3 separate regions of the Homo sapiens genome follow, and regions 1 and 3 are each linked to region 2. Evidence: promoter capture Hi-C in 16 types of primary human blood cells and fetal thymus (Javierre and others, 2016). All regions are on one chromosome and are shown on one strand. Each heading gives the region's core, a stretch centred on a gene start or on the middle of the fragment in contact. The rest is flanking DNA. Distances are from core to core; before and after follow the strand shown. Region 1 holds the start of IGFL2 (IGF like family member 2). Region 2 has its middle 18 kb from the start of PNMA8C. Region 3 holds the start of IGFL3 (IGF like family member 3).

What was found. The method cuts DNA at HindIII sites, captures the fragments that hold promoters and counts their contacts. A CHiCAGO score of 5 or more calls a contact.
Region 1: a contact is called between the fragment with the promoter of IGFL2 here and a fragment that was not itself captured in region 2, in 1 of 17 cell types (M1 macrophages). The highest score is 5.6, in M1 macrophages.
Region 3: a contact is called between the fragment with the promoter of IGFL3 here and a fragment that was not itself captured in region 2, in 1 of 17 cell types (M2 macrophages). The highest score is 5.4, in M2 macrophages.

Annotation. Positions count from the first base shown.
Region 1 is chr19:46,145,451-46,149,752 of GRCh38, forward strand. It overlaps IGFL2 (IGF like family member 2), which reads left to right and starts at 2,788. Exons shown (of 4, transcript NM_001135113.2): 1 at 2,788-2,847. The coding sequence starts at 2,829. The HindIII fragment of the contact is 5,659 bases long and covers 1-3,020 here.
Region 2 is chr19:46,444,968-46,449,151 of GRCh38, forward strand. No RefSeq gene overlaps it. Among named protein-coding and RNA genes, the nearest start is that of PNMA8C, 18 kb to the left of the region's middle. The HindIII fragment of the contact is 2,746 bases long and covers 1,262-4,007 here.
Region 3 is chr19:46,121,781-46,126,266 of GRCh38, forward strand. IGFL3 (IGF like family member 3) reads right to left here and starts at 2,908. Exons shown (of 4, transcript NM_207393.2): 1 at 2,845-2,908; 2 at 2,488-2,541; 3 at 2,106-2,376. The coding sequence starts at 2,869. It also overlaps a transcript of IGFL2 not described here. The HindIII fragment of the contact is 3,515 bases long and covers 1,755-4,486 here.

The sequences.
Region 1 (4,302 bases), core at 1,538-4,037, 300 kb before region 2:
GTGACTTACCTACCAGTGAGTGACCCACTCACCAGATTAAAGCCCTCCTTCCAGTAACTCTTAGTTCCTTTCAGGGTTTCTTCTCTCCACCTTCCCATCTTGCTTCCAGCTTCCCTCACTGGTAGAGAATTAAGGACACACTCATATATATGTGTGTGTGTGTGTGTGTGTGTGTGTGTGTGTGTATTTATTTATTTATTTATTTAATATATATATTTAAATTTTGCCAATTCTAGTAGATGGGAGATAGTATCTCACTGGTTTTAATTTGTAGTTCCAGTATGGCTAATGGTGTTGAACAACTTTTCATGTGCTTATTTGCTATCTGTATGTCCTCTTTTGTAAAGCATCTGTTCAGATATTTTGCCGATGCTTAATGATTTTGTTTGTTGTTTCACTTTGAGTTTTGAGAGTTTTTCATATACTCTGGATTCAAGTCCTATGTTAGAGATGTGATTCACAGACACTTTCTGCAGTTGGTAGCCTGTCTGTTGCTTCACTTAACAATTTGTTCATCAAGTTTAACTTTAAAATTTTGATAAGTCCAATCTGTTTTTAAAAAATGGATAATGCTTTTGATGTCTTTTCCCAGATATAAATGTTTTCTCTGATGCCTTCTCCTTGAAATACGTAGTTTTACTTTTCATATCTAGACCATTTGGAGTTAACTTTTGTATAGAGTGTGAGCTTTGGTAGAAGTCTTCTTTTTTTTTTTCATATGCATGCCCATTGTCTCACACCATTTGTTGAAATGACTATCTTTTCCCCCATTGAATTGCCTTTACATCTTTGCCAAAAGACAATTTACTATATTTGTTTGGGTTTATTTCTGGAACCTATTCTGTTCCTTTGATCTATGTGTCTATCCATGTCTATCCATTTGCCAATACTACACTGTTGTCATTACTGTAGCTTGAGTAATTGTGAAATTGGATAGTGTGAGTCCTCTACCATCTTTCCTCATCCAAAATTGTGTTGGCCATTCTAGTTTCCATTGCTTTTCTATATAAATTCTAGAGTTATTTTGTTTCTCTCTCAGACAAATCCTGCTTGGGTTTGATTGGAATTGTGTTAAATCTGTAGATAATTTGGAAAGAATTGGCATCTTACCTAAATTACAGATTCCAAACCACGACATGATATACCACTCTGTATTTAAGGTTTCCTTGAATACTTTAATCGTACACATCCTTTATATGTTCTCCTAGATTTACAGTATACCAGTTCAGTTTTTGGGGAGGGGGGTATTGTAAATGGCATTTTTTTTCTTTAAATTATTGTATCCACTAGTTCTTGCCAGTATAAAGGAATACAATTGACTTCTGTGTGTTTCATACGCTACAACCTTTCTAAATTCACTTATCAGGTCCAGAACTCTTCTACTAACAATGCACTTTTATAAAGCCCTAACACCTCTCCTGATCTCTGTCTCACCCTCCCACCTATCTCACTGTGGGATGGGAAGGAAGTCAATGGAAAACACAGGAGCGCATTCTAATAATAGCCCACATGGTATCCAGTGACACAAATAATAGTGATGGTGACAATAAAATAACAGTAAGAAACACAGAAGGAGCGTTTCCTTGGACAAAGCACTCCAGAAACAACAACAAAAAGGGGCTGCCTTTCCATCTATTCTATGAATCCCAGATGTCTATTTTATCACTGTCTGTTCCTTTTCTGTTCTCCCTGGCAGGGTTTTTACAGCCCCTGCTCTTTTTCTAGATTATGCTGCATCTTCACAGTTTCCCCTAAATGACTCTGAAGAATTATAGACAGTGCTGTCTACAATTATAATAATGGATATGGTGGTCCATTTCCAAGACAAAGTACCTCAGATAGGCTGAGGCCCACAAACTATGGAAGGACAGAATATACTAGGCCCATAGCTGGTGCATGCTTGTCGGGGTCCCCTTAGTTACCCTCTCCCAAACCAGAGTTTAGTCTAGAATGAAAGTTTACTAGCCAGCAAAATAGCTCACTTTATCTATTCTTATCAGCTTGCCTGACTGCCTAGGTCATAAGTCAAATACTTGAAAAGCCCTCGAGCTGGCTTTGATTGCAATGTATTATAGGCTGCAACAAAATGCAGTGAGACAATCCTAAAGAAAACACCTAAAAGCCTCAACCCAGCAACCAATAGGCGACGTCTGGGAAGATCGTGACCCCATCGTACTTAGCCTACGAGGAACCAGGGGAGAGACTTGTGCACTAGGGGATAAATAGCTTGTTGTAACCGTACTGGGTGTGCCTGCCTACCAGACATTCAATCTTGCAAGACCATCATTAAAAGTCTTGCTTCCACTGTTTTCTGTGTCTCTGAGTCCATTCTTTGGGTTTGGACGGGTGCGTTTGTTTCTCATAGTGCAGGTCTGGAGCCGGACTGAGATGGGGAGTAGAGGGACCCCTTGAAACTTCAGGGTGGATGAATATGAAGTTTCATCACCAGCTGTGATGTTTGGTGAGTAGTATGCTCTCAGATAAGTGAGAGCCAAGGAATCTCTTTCAAGTCTCTTTGCCGTGGGCAGAGTTCAAAGAATGACACTCACTCACGGCTTTGAAAGGTTCTAGGGAAGCCTTTACTCTGAGATTTCGAGAGGTCTGAGAAGGTAGCAGTCACTTGGAACAGGTCCAGGAACATCTTACTAAGCTGTTGATGCAGTTTTTTCTTATGCTTTCTGTGGCTTCTCATGCCCCACCCTTTCCAAGAGGCCAGTGCTTCTGGGCACCTCCCTAAATGTGGATAAGTTCATAGCCTACATAAGTCCCTGTATAAAGTCACTGACCCATTTGCACTGCTGCTGTCCCATCAGCTGCTCTGAAGCTCCATGGTGCCCAGAATCTTCGGTAAGGTAACCCTTGCCCCAGGTTGAGCTAATGCCTACTGTTATCCCTAATGTACCTCTGAACCTCAAACTTAATTCTCTCTTCCCTATTTAATTCTTGGTTTCCCACCTCATAATCACCCGTGTCCTCTCTGACTGCATTGCAATCTCTCTTCCCCACCTGCAAATTCCAGAAGCTTAACCCTTTCCAGAGCCCTCCCTGCATTTCCTCACCTGCCAAGCCCAATGCCCAGAACCTGCACACAGAGTCAGTCCCAAAATCTGCTCTGAGCTGTTACAGCAACCAAAGAAACTCAGAGACATCATCTTGTGCCCCATGATCATGATCTGGTGACCCCAGAATCACTGTCATTCTTCTCTCAGCTGATCTTTATTTTTGAACTCCTGGGCTCAGACTCAGAAGGGACCATAGGTGAGAATGGGTGTGGTGAGTGGAGGGAGAAGAAAGGAGGGAGGATTATAGCACTGTGGATAGGGTTGGGGGCTCCCAGAGGTCCCCTGCCAGCTCATCAGCTCTGACTCTTCCAGATATTGGACTGTGGTTGTGCCAGTTGACACTCAGGAGTGGAGACTAGATCTGCAATCTGTTGGGACTGTGATGAGGGGATCATCCTGCCCTCGAACCAGACCCAGCCCTGTAGCCCAGGCACTATTGCCTGGAGTTCCTGGGCTCTCAGCGCCAGGAAATCATGAGGTTCAGTGTCTCAGGCATGAGGACCGACTACCCCAGGAGTGTGCTGGGTAAGTAAGGGCAGCCCAGGCAGTGGACTGAGTTTTGTTGTGTGTATTCCATCAAGATGAGCAATGCCTGCTGTGTTCACTAACTTCTTTTTGGGCAACCATCTCTCTCTCTCCCTCTCTCTCTTCTCTCTCTCTCTCTTCTCTCTCTCTTTCTCTCTCCCTCTCTTTCTCTCTCCCTCTCTTTTCTCTCTCTCCCTTTTCTCTCTCTCTCTCTTTCTCTTTCCCACTCACCCCTCACCCTTTCCACCTCTCCCCCTCTTCCCCTCTCCCCCTCCCCCTCCCCTCCCCATCTCCCTGTGTCCCTCTGTCTCACATCCCCCTCTCTTCTCTTCCCCTCTCCCCTCCCTGTCTTTTCCCTCCTCTCCTTCCTTCTCTTCCTTCCTCTCTCAAGTTGAAGGAAGAGTAGCTCAGTCATCTTCCAGAATTGCTTTTTACCTCCGAGTCACCTGGCTCCATAGCCCCCGACCACCGCATGCCCATTTAGCTGTTCCTCTCTTTCCCCTCTACCCTCACCCTTGGCAACCACCAGTCAGCTTTCTGTCTCTATGGATTTACCTATCTGGGACATTTCATATAAATGGAATCACACCATTTATAAGTGACCTTTCGTGTAACTTTTTTTTTAACTTAATGTTTTCAAGGCATATCCCCATTATAGAATTTATTAGTACTTCATTCCTTTTTACAACTGAATAAATTCAATTGTATCCATGTA
Region 2 (4,184 bases), core at 1,385-3,884:
TCCCAAAGTGCTGGAATTACAAAGTGCTGGTGACGTGAACCACCTTGCCCAGCTGTGTACACTCTAAATGGTTCATTTTATATTATTTCTAAATGGTTCATTTTATATTATGTGAATTTCACCTCAATACAAAACTTTTTTTTTTTTCAGACGGAGTTTCCCTCTTGTTGCCCAGGCTGGGGTGCAATGGCACGATCTCGGCTCACTGCAACCTACGCCACCCCAGGTTCAAGCGATTCTCCTGCCTCAGCCTCCCGAGTAGCTGGGATTACAGGCACGCACCACCATGCCCGGCTAATTTTGTGTTTTTAGTAGAGATGGGGTTTCACCATGTTGGTCATGCTGGTCTCAAACTCCCGACCCCAGGTGATCCACCTGTCTCAGCCTCCCAAAGTGCTGGGATTACAGGCGTGAGCCACCGCGCCCGGCTTTTTTGTTGTTGTTGTTTTTTGTTTTTTTTAATTGACTCAGCTTTGGGCTTGAACTGTTAGAATGATGGTGCGTCCATTCAGTGAGATGAGGAAGCTCTAGGGAAAATGAACTTGGGAGTGGGGAATCCCATTTTGAATGTCTTAAATTTGATATGCCTTGTAGGCTTCCAAGCCGAGTTAGATATATGAGCCTGGAGTTCAGAGATGGGGTGGAGATAAAAATTTAGAAGCCATTGGCACACGGGAAATATCTTAAGCCATGGAGCTAGATGAGCTCATTTAGGCCAGAGGTGTCCAATCTTTTGGCTTCCCTGGGCCACACTGGAAGAAGAATTGTCTTGGGCAACACATAAAATACGCTAACACTAACAATAGCTGATGAGCTAAAAAAAAAAAAAAATCGCAAAAAAAAAAAATCTCATTTTTTGTTGTTGTTGTTGTTTTTTGTTTTCGAGACGGAGTTTCGCTCTTGTTGCCCAGGCTGGAGTGCAATGGCCCAGTCTCGGCTCACTGCAACCTCCACCTCTGGGTTCAAGTGATTCTCCTTCCTCAGCCTCCCAAGTAGCTGGGATTATAGGCATGCACCACCACACCCGGCTAATTTTGTATTTTTAGTAGAAACAGGGTTTCTCCATGTTGGTCAGGCTGGTCTCGAACTCCCGACCTCAGGTGATCCGCTCGCCTCAGCCTCCGAAAGTGCTGGGATTATAGGCGTTGCCACCGCACCCGGCCAAAATCTCATAATGTTCTAAGAAAGTTTACGAATTTGTGTTGGGCCACCTTCAGAGCCATCCTGGGCCGCATGCAGCCCACGGGCCGCAAGTTGGAGAAGCTTGATCTAGGGAAAGGGTGTGGGGAAAGACGAAGAGATGGCCCAAGCCCATGCCTCTGGCAGTCCCAGCGTGTCAGTGTCAGACAGCAGACAAAGAATCCAGGAGACAGCAGAAGAGGGCTGGGGGGAAGCCCAAGAGTGAGTGTTTGGAAAACTAAAGAGAGTAACAGCAATCGGTTGGAATTGGAGTGTATCCATTTATAGAGGACTATGCTTAGTGGTACACAAACATAAATTGTGGCGCATCCGTGTAGTAGAATACTATGCATGGTTACACGAAATAAGGAGGAAGTTCTCTATGTGCTGAGATGGGAAGATTTCCTTTGTATGAAATGATTTGCTGACATCCTCACAAAACACTGTTTAATAAAGCAAGGTGTATAACACTGTAAAAAAAAATAAAGAGAGAGAGAAAAATTCCTTTTTTTTTTTTCCTTTTCGAGACAGGGTCTCACTCTGTCACCCAGGCTGGAGTGCAGTGGTGCAATCATGGCTCACTGCAGCCTCCCAGGCTCCAGCGATCCTCCTGCCTCAGCCTCCCAAGTAGCTGGAATTACAGGCACCCGCCACCACGCCCGGTTAATTTTTGTATTTTTAGTAGAGACAGGTTTTCACCATATTAGCCAGGCTGGATCTCGAACTCCTGGCCTCAAGTGATCCACCCGCCTCGGCCTCCCAAAGTGCTGGGATTACAGGCGTCAGCCACCGTGCCTGGCCACAGGACTGGCTTTCAATATGAAGCACAGAAACGTCCTCCAAGGGGCAGGAGAGAAGGACAAGGGCACACACGTCCAGCAAATGCAGATTTCCTGGTAAGAAGCTGAAGAAACAAATTTTATTATTTAACAAAAATGTAGATGATGCTTACTATATGCCTGACCCTGTTCCAAGCACTTTGCAAATACTTCATTTGCATGAAAAGCCTTTGAGGTAGCTACTGTTATATTCTGTCATCCTCATCTTACAAATGAGGAAGCAGGCACAGAGGGCAATCACCTTCCCCAAAGTCACACAGCTGGTAAGAAGCAGGGCTGCTTAAAGGTGGGCAATCGGGCAGCAGAATTCACACTCTTAAACAGTACTCCATAATACTTCTCTGTGCTTGACCTCCTGGGGCTCAAGCAATCCTCCTGGGCTCAAGCGATCCTCCTGCCCCAGCCTCCCAAGCAGCTGGGATCACAGGCTTGCACTACCATGCCTGGCTAATTTTTTTGTATTTTTAGTAGAGATGGGCTTTCACCATGTTGTCCAGGCTGGTCTCAAACTCCTGGCCTCCAGAGATCCTCCAGCCTCAGCCTCCCGAAGTGCTGGGATTACAGGCGTAAGCCACAGTACCCAGTCCTCTGTGCTCTGTTCTTGATAAATGACATTTTATTGTACAGATGTGTTTTATTTTTAGATGGAAGATCAGTGGGTGAAGATTCAGGCTGGTTCAGGGCACTGGGAGTCTTGAGGAGAGAGGAGACTCAGAAGCTGCCGTCTTGGAGAAAAAAACTTACTAGAAAAACAGGAGGACTCCATGTTTGAGGTTTGTGGTGCTGGGTTTTCAGTGAAATCCCAGAGGCTGGCTGAGATTTTTCCTGCTTCGTGGGAGGAAATGGCTTTCGCATGGGAGGGGGAAAGATAAGTATGGCCCAGTTCACAGTCTGTCTGCAAATCCCCAGGCACTCTGGTTCCCCGGTTCTCTCGGGGTCCTGGAATCTGGTGCTGGGTGGCCTGTCTGCCCTTCCAACTGGCCACCTGGTCCCTGTGAGCTGAACTCCAGGAACCCAGCATGGCCAGGCCAGGCTGCAGGGGAGGGAAGGGCCTGGAAGCCTGTTCCCAGGCCATGGCCAAAGGAAACGAGTTACCTTCCAGGAACTGGAGCCCAGAGGCAGGGGTGAGGAGCTGGGGAGCTGGGGGCCTGGAGGGAAAGCAGTGCCCAGAACTTGCAGGGCCTCTGAAGCTGGGCTGGAGTTTGGCTCTGGGCACGAGAGCCAACAGGGCCTGTCATGGGCACAGTCTCCACCCCATGATTTGAGGGCTGAATAATGGTCCTCAAATACAACCACCTCCTAAGTCCTGGAACCTGTAAATAGGTGACTTCATGTAGCAAAAGGGACTTGGAAGATGATCCTGAATTATCTGGGTGGGACCAATGTCATTACAAAGGTCTTTATAAAGAAGGCCAAGCTCAGTGGCTCACACCTATAATGCCAACATTTTGGGAGGCCAAGGCAGGAGGATGGCTTGAGCTCAGGAGTTCAAGACCAGCCTGGGCAACATAGTGAAACCCCATCTCTACTAAAAATACAAAAATTAGCCAGGTGTGGTGGCAAGTGCCTACAGTACCAGCTACTCAGGAGGCTGAGGCAGGAGAATCGCCTGAACCCGGGAGGCGGAGATTGCAGTATGCCAAGATTGCCCTGGGCGACAGAGCAAGACTCTGTCTAAATAAATAAATAAATAAATAAATAAATAAATAAAATTTAAAAAGAAAAGAGGGAGACGAGAGGGTCAGAATCGGAAAAGGGAACGTGCCAATGGAAGCAGGGTTTGGAGTCATGCAAGAAACGGCCCCAAGCCAAGGAATGCAGGTGGCCCCTGTACTCTGGGAAAGGTGAGGACACGTACTCTTCCCTGGAGCCTCCAAAGGAACACGGCCCTGCTCATCCATTCAGACTTGTAACCTTCCGAACTGGCAGCCAATAAATTTTGTGTTGCCTTAAGTTAATCCATTTATGGTAATTTGTTACAGTGACAGAAGCTTGAGACAGCAAGTTTCTTTTTTTCTTTTTTTTTTTTTTTTGAGACAGAGTCTTGCTCTGTCACCAGGCTGGAGTGCAGTGGGGTGATGTCGGCTCACTGGAACCTCTGCCTCCTGGGTTCAAGCGATTCTCCTGCCTCAGCCTCCCAAGTAGCTGGGACTACAGGCACCCACC
Region 3 (4,486 bases), core at 1,658-4,157, 320 kb before region 2:
GCAAGTGCGGAGCTGACTGCAAAGAGACAAAGGCTTGCTGGGGATTTTATAGGTTGGTGCTTGTGCTGGAGAGAGCTACTTAGAGTACTGATAATGGTAAGGTTGCAGTGAGCTGATTTGCATATTTCTTTTTTAATGAAATTTAACTTGGCTTTTACTGCATTTTTAAAATGTAAAAATGTAAAAACAAACACAACATAGTATTTCAATGCTGTACCTTTATGCAAATGACTTCATCTATCTTTTTAAAACATGCTGTGATATAGCTAATGTTAAAACTGACACAGCTTCACTTTCTTCTTTTTCTCTGTACTGAAAGCTGCAGAAATACACCTTTAATTCCAAGACAATTTGGTTGAAGCCCTCAAAATAAAAAGTGTACATCCACTTCCATTGCCCTGACTTTCCCCACATTGTTGATTGTGATTCTCTGTGCCATGTTGGTAGATCAGGCAGGCTATATATAATTTGCACAAAACATCTTTAGCCAGGGTAAGGTTTTAGAAACTATCTTAAAAAGAAACTTGTCAAAATATTTTTGATATTTAGGACAAATACTAAATATTATAATTTTCTCCCAGCACATCTGTTTACACAGCCTAGTTAGCTAGCTGACCCTGTTAAAGATCAGCTTATGGAACAAATAGGTGAAGTCATTTCCTGAGCCAAAAGATACAGATAATAAATGTTAATAATAGCAGCAGACTAAAAACATTCCTTTTTGTTGTTTGTTTTCCATAGTCAACAGTTTTAGCACAAGGACTTTAGAAAATGACAGATTTTTTTGGTAAAGTTTACTGCCTGAAAAGAGTTTAATAAAGAACATCCAAGGCCTGATTGCTGTTATTCTGAATATAACTTTTAATTACTTTCTGTAAGTTACATTCGGTTACTGTCAGACAACTTACTGTTGCATGGAAAAATGCCCCAAAAAACTGCAATGGTTTACATACATTTTACATTACACGTATTACCTCTTAAAACCCCCAACAGAATAAAGTCTTAGCAAACACAAATTTTAATTTCTGAACACCCTTCCAGTAAGATTGTAAAGGTGGGAGGAAGGGGAGGAAGGACTTGTTTTTTGTATTCCTAGTCTACTTGATTAAAATGTAATCTTCCAAGGGTTTGTTTAGCTCACTATCCAGACTGCTAGGGTTATGATGAACATTATTACTTCTTTCCAGGGTAAAAAAAATGACATTTGAAAATAATGTAAATGCTATGACATGATTTTCCCAAGCATGACCTCAACTTGAAACATTAGATTACTTAAGAATTCTAAAGATTGGTATACCACCACTGCACCAGAATTTTTAATTATTCCAACAGCTACAGGAATTTTTTAATAGTTTTTTTAATTTTATGAACTTAAAGCTGAAGAAAATAACCGATTTAGAAACCATAATAAAAGGACAGATATTTAGCCAGAGATATCAGTTCCTCCTGAAAAAGGATACTGACCTCCTCTCACTGCAGTTTTTCTCCAGGTATCTTACTGATTTCAGATAGAATTTAAAATTCATCTTAAAAATAGAAACAAAAGGACTACTTAAACTGACATTAACTAATAAAAATATGCTCAAATTTACTGACAGAATCATGGACACTTCATACAATACTTAGACTCTACCAGTTTTAAGTAAAGTAAGGAAAAAATTATAATTACAAAGCCAGTCTTTCCCCTTGGGGAAACAAAAAAGCCACTTTTGACCAATTGTTCCCTGCATATACATATACTGTATATTATTATAAGCTTCTTCAGAGAAGCAAAACATCTTTGTCTTCCTGACACTGGATTATTTAGCATGTTTTTTTACATCAGGAAGGCAACTGCACTGCTTGCATTTTTCTACCAGCTGAGTGTCTGGTGATAGCTGGGTGCAAGAAGATTGTGAGTTATTTATGCAGGAGGACTGTTTGTCCTCGACCATGAAGAAAGGCAGACTTATAGCTTATCTGCTTCTTCTTTTTGCTTTCCCCTGCTGCCACCAGCCTGACTCTTTTGCCGTTAGAACTCCACAAACAGGAGTTCCTCTTCAAGCCCTCTGTATCCCTCATCCCTCCCTCATTCCTTTAGTTAAGAGCAAGGTAGGGACCTTTACCTGGTACAGCTCCGGGAGATGGGAGATAAGTGACACTGAGACTTCATACCCAGAACCCTCAACTTCACAAGAAACTTCTGCTGGGGGCCAAAAGACTCGGGACAGCAGAGCTCAAAGCAGGGCCAGAAGGTGCAGGTGGAGCCACAGCGGCGGGTCTCCTTTAAGGATAAGATGGCATCATCATAACAGCACTGCTCTGAAGGGTTGTAGATCTTGTTCCCACACCTGGGTGTCGGCTGGCACAGCCACAGTCCTGAGCCAACAGGAGCGTCTGGGGGCAGACATTGATGGTGTACATCCAAGGAAGAACAGATACTCAATTCCCAGTCTCTTTTCCCAACACCACCTCTTCCCTCCTCATTTTTCCCTGTCCTGTCCTTACCTGTAGTTCCTTTTGAACACTGGAGGAGGAAGACTGTTATCCAGCAGACAAGAGCTAAGGGAGAAAGGAAAAAGGTTGAACATGGAGCTGAGAATGTGACAAGTATGGAAAAAACAAACAAACAAACAAACAGAGGTTAGGGTGGTTTAAAGGTGGAGATTATCACTTGGGGCTAAGTCTGTATGGGATCCCGTTCAGGCAGGCCCTGAGCAGCACGCTCAGTCACCCTTTGAGGTGACTAGTAGGGCACAGGAGGCTGGAATAATGTTAGAGATAAAGAGGAATAAATCGGGTTGAGGTTTGGGAGCTGCACTGGGAATGAGATGAGATGATGTTTGGATTTGGGGTCCTACTTGCCCAAGATGCAGCATCGTGGCCTCATGCTTCCAAAGATGCTCTAGGAGAATTGAAGAAGAGTGGTAAAAGGCTGGAACTTATGGAGACAGCCTAAATGGGGTTGTCTGTTAACCTGGTAAGTTTACTGATTGGATGGCTGCTGATCATGCCACCTGCAGTCTCCCAAGCACATTCCTTGAAGATAACCAAAGTCTCCCAAGCACATTCATTAGTTTCTTTAAGGAGGAGACTGGGTGGCGTAAGGGACCACAGAGCCGAATGTTGCAGACTGACTCATTGCATTCTCCATATACTATTGCAGACCTCAGGGTGAATGAGTGTAGGTTGGTCCTACTCCAAGTTAGGCTTCTAAGAGTTTTCAAGCTCCGACATTGAGGAGACAGTGCCCAACTAAGCTCCAATCAGAGAGAATGCTTCAGCCACTTCCCCATCTGGTTTCACATCCTCCCCTTCCTAATACTTGCTTCTTCTATATTCCCCAAGCACGATGTCTCTGGAAATGTCAAGGGGACCGTTTATGAAGCCACTTTATTTTTTGCTCTGGAGTCATTAGAGTTGCCACCTGCTCTAGCAGTTGAGCCACGGCTCTGGAAACTCCAATAAAGGGGGTAGGGGTGGAGAATAGCAATGGCCCAAATCTCCTGGTGTGCTTGGTGTGAGGATTCAGAGACCTCCAGCATCTTAGTTACATGGTCAGGGAAAGTACTAAACACCTGCTTTTCATAATCATATTATATTAGTGGCCAATGATAAGTGATGTAGTACTTAGGAGTGTGTAGTACTTAGGTGTGCAGACAGAGGGAAGGGCAGGGCAAACTGAGGCCTGCCAGGCAAGTGCCAGCTAGGGAAGGGCTTGGACAAATTCAAATAATCCCGAAGCTGTGGAAAGGACCTCAGTCTTCATGGATGTGTGATGATTCAATCAGAAAATGTCTAAGGATTGGCCAGACTTTCCATCCTCCACTTGCTGGCACAGCATAGGGAAGAGTTGCTGACTTAAGTTCATCCAGCCTGTACCATAGCCTTTGAAATGGTTCTCCTTTTCTGAGCTTCATTCTTAGCTTCCTGTACATGTGCGGAGGTGTGGGGTGTGGTTTGGATGCACAAGGCTGCTCTCCCCTACCCCGGAACCTAAGAAGGCCAACAATGTGAAGATTCCTAGTGAGCCCAGGCTGTCAGCTTGTTTACTACCAAATGTTAAAAAGAAACGTTTGAGTTTGATTAGGTAAAATACAAAGGACAAATAATAATATCTTTAATATACAATTATCATTCTTATTCCAAATGAAACTTCAGCTTTACTATTGGGCATTGGGAAGTTAATGTGTACTTAATTTTTCATCTTACAGAAGTGGCAAGGGGCAGCTTGAAGGGATAATTTTTAATGCATTTTATAATGATAATCATTTAGAGAAATCCTTATGTTGTATCTCATTAACACTAAGATGTTATTGAAAGATACACTGTTGTTTTGCAACTCTAAGATGCAATCTCATCACTTAGAATGTTTATTAACAGAGCTTCTTGCAACATGTTGAGACGTAGACTTTTGGAAGGCGAATAGAAAAATAAAAATATATGGGAAATAAATCTGTTAAAGATTTCTTAAAATGTCTCCACATTTGGAGACTGCCTCCTGTGA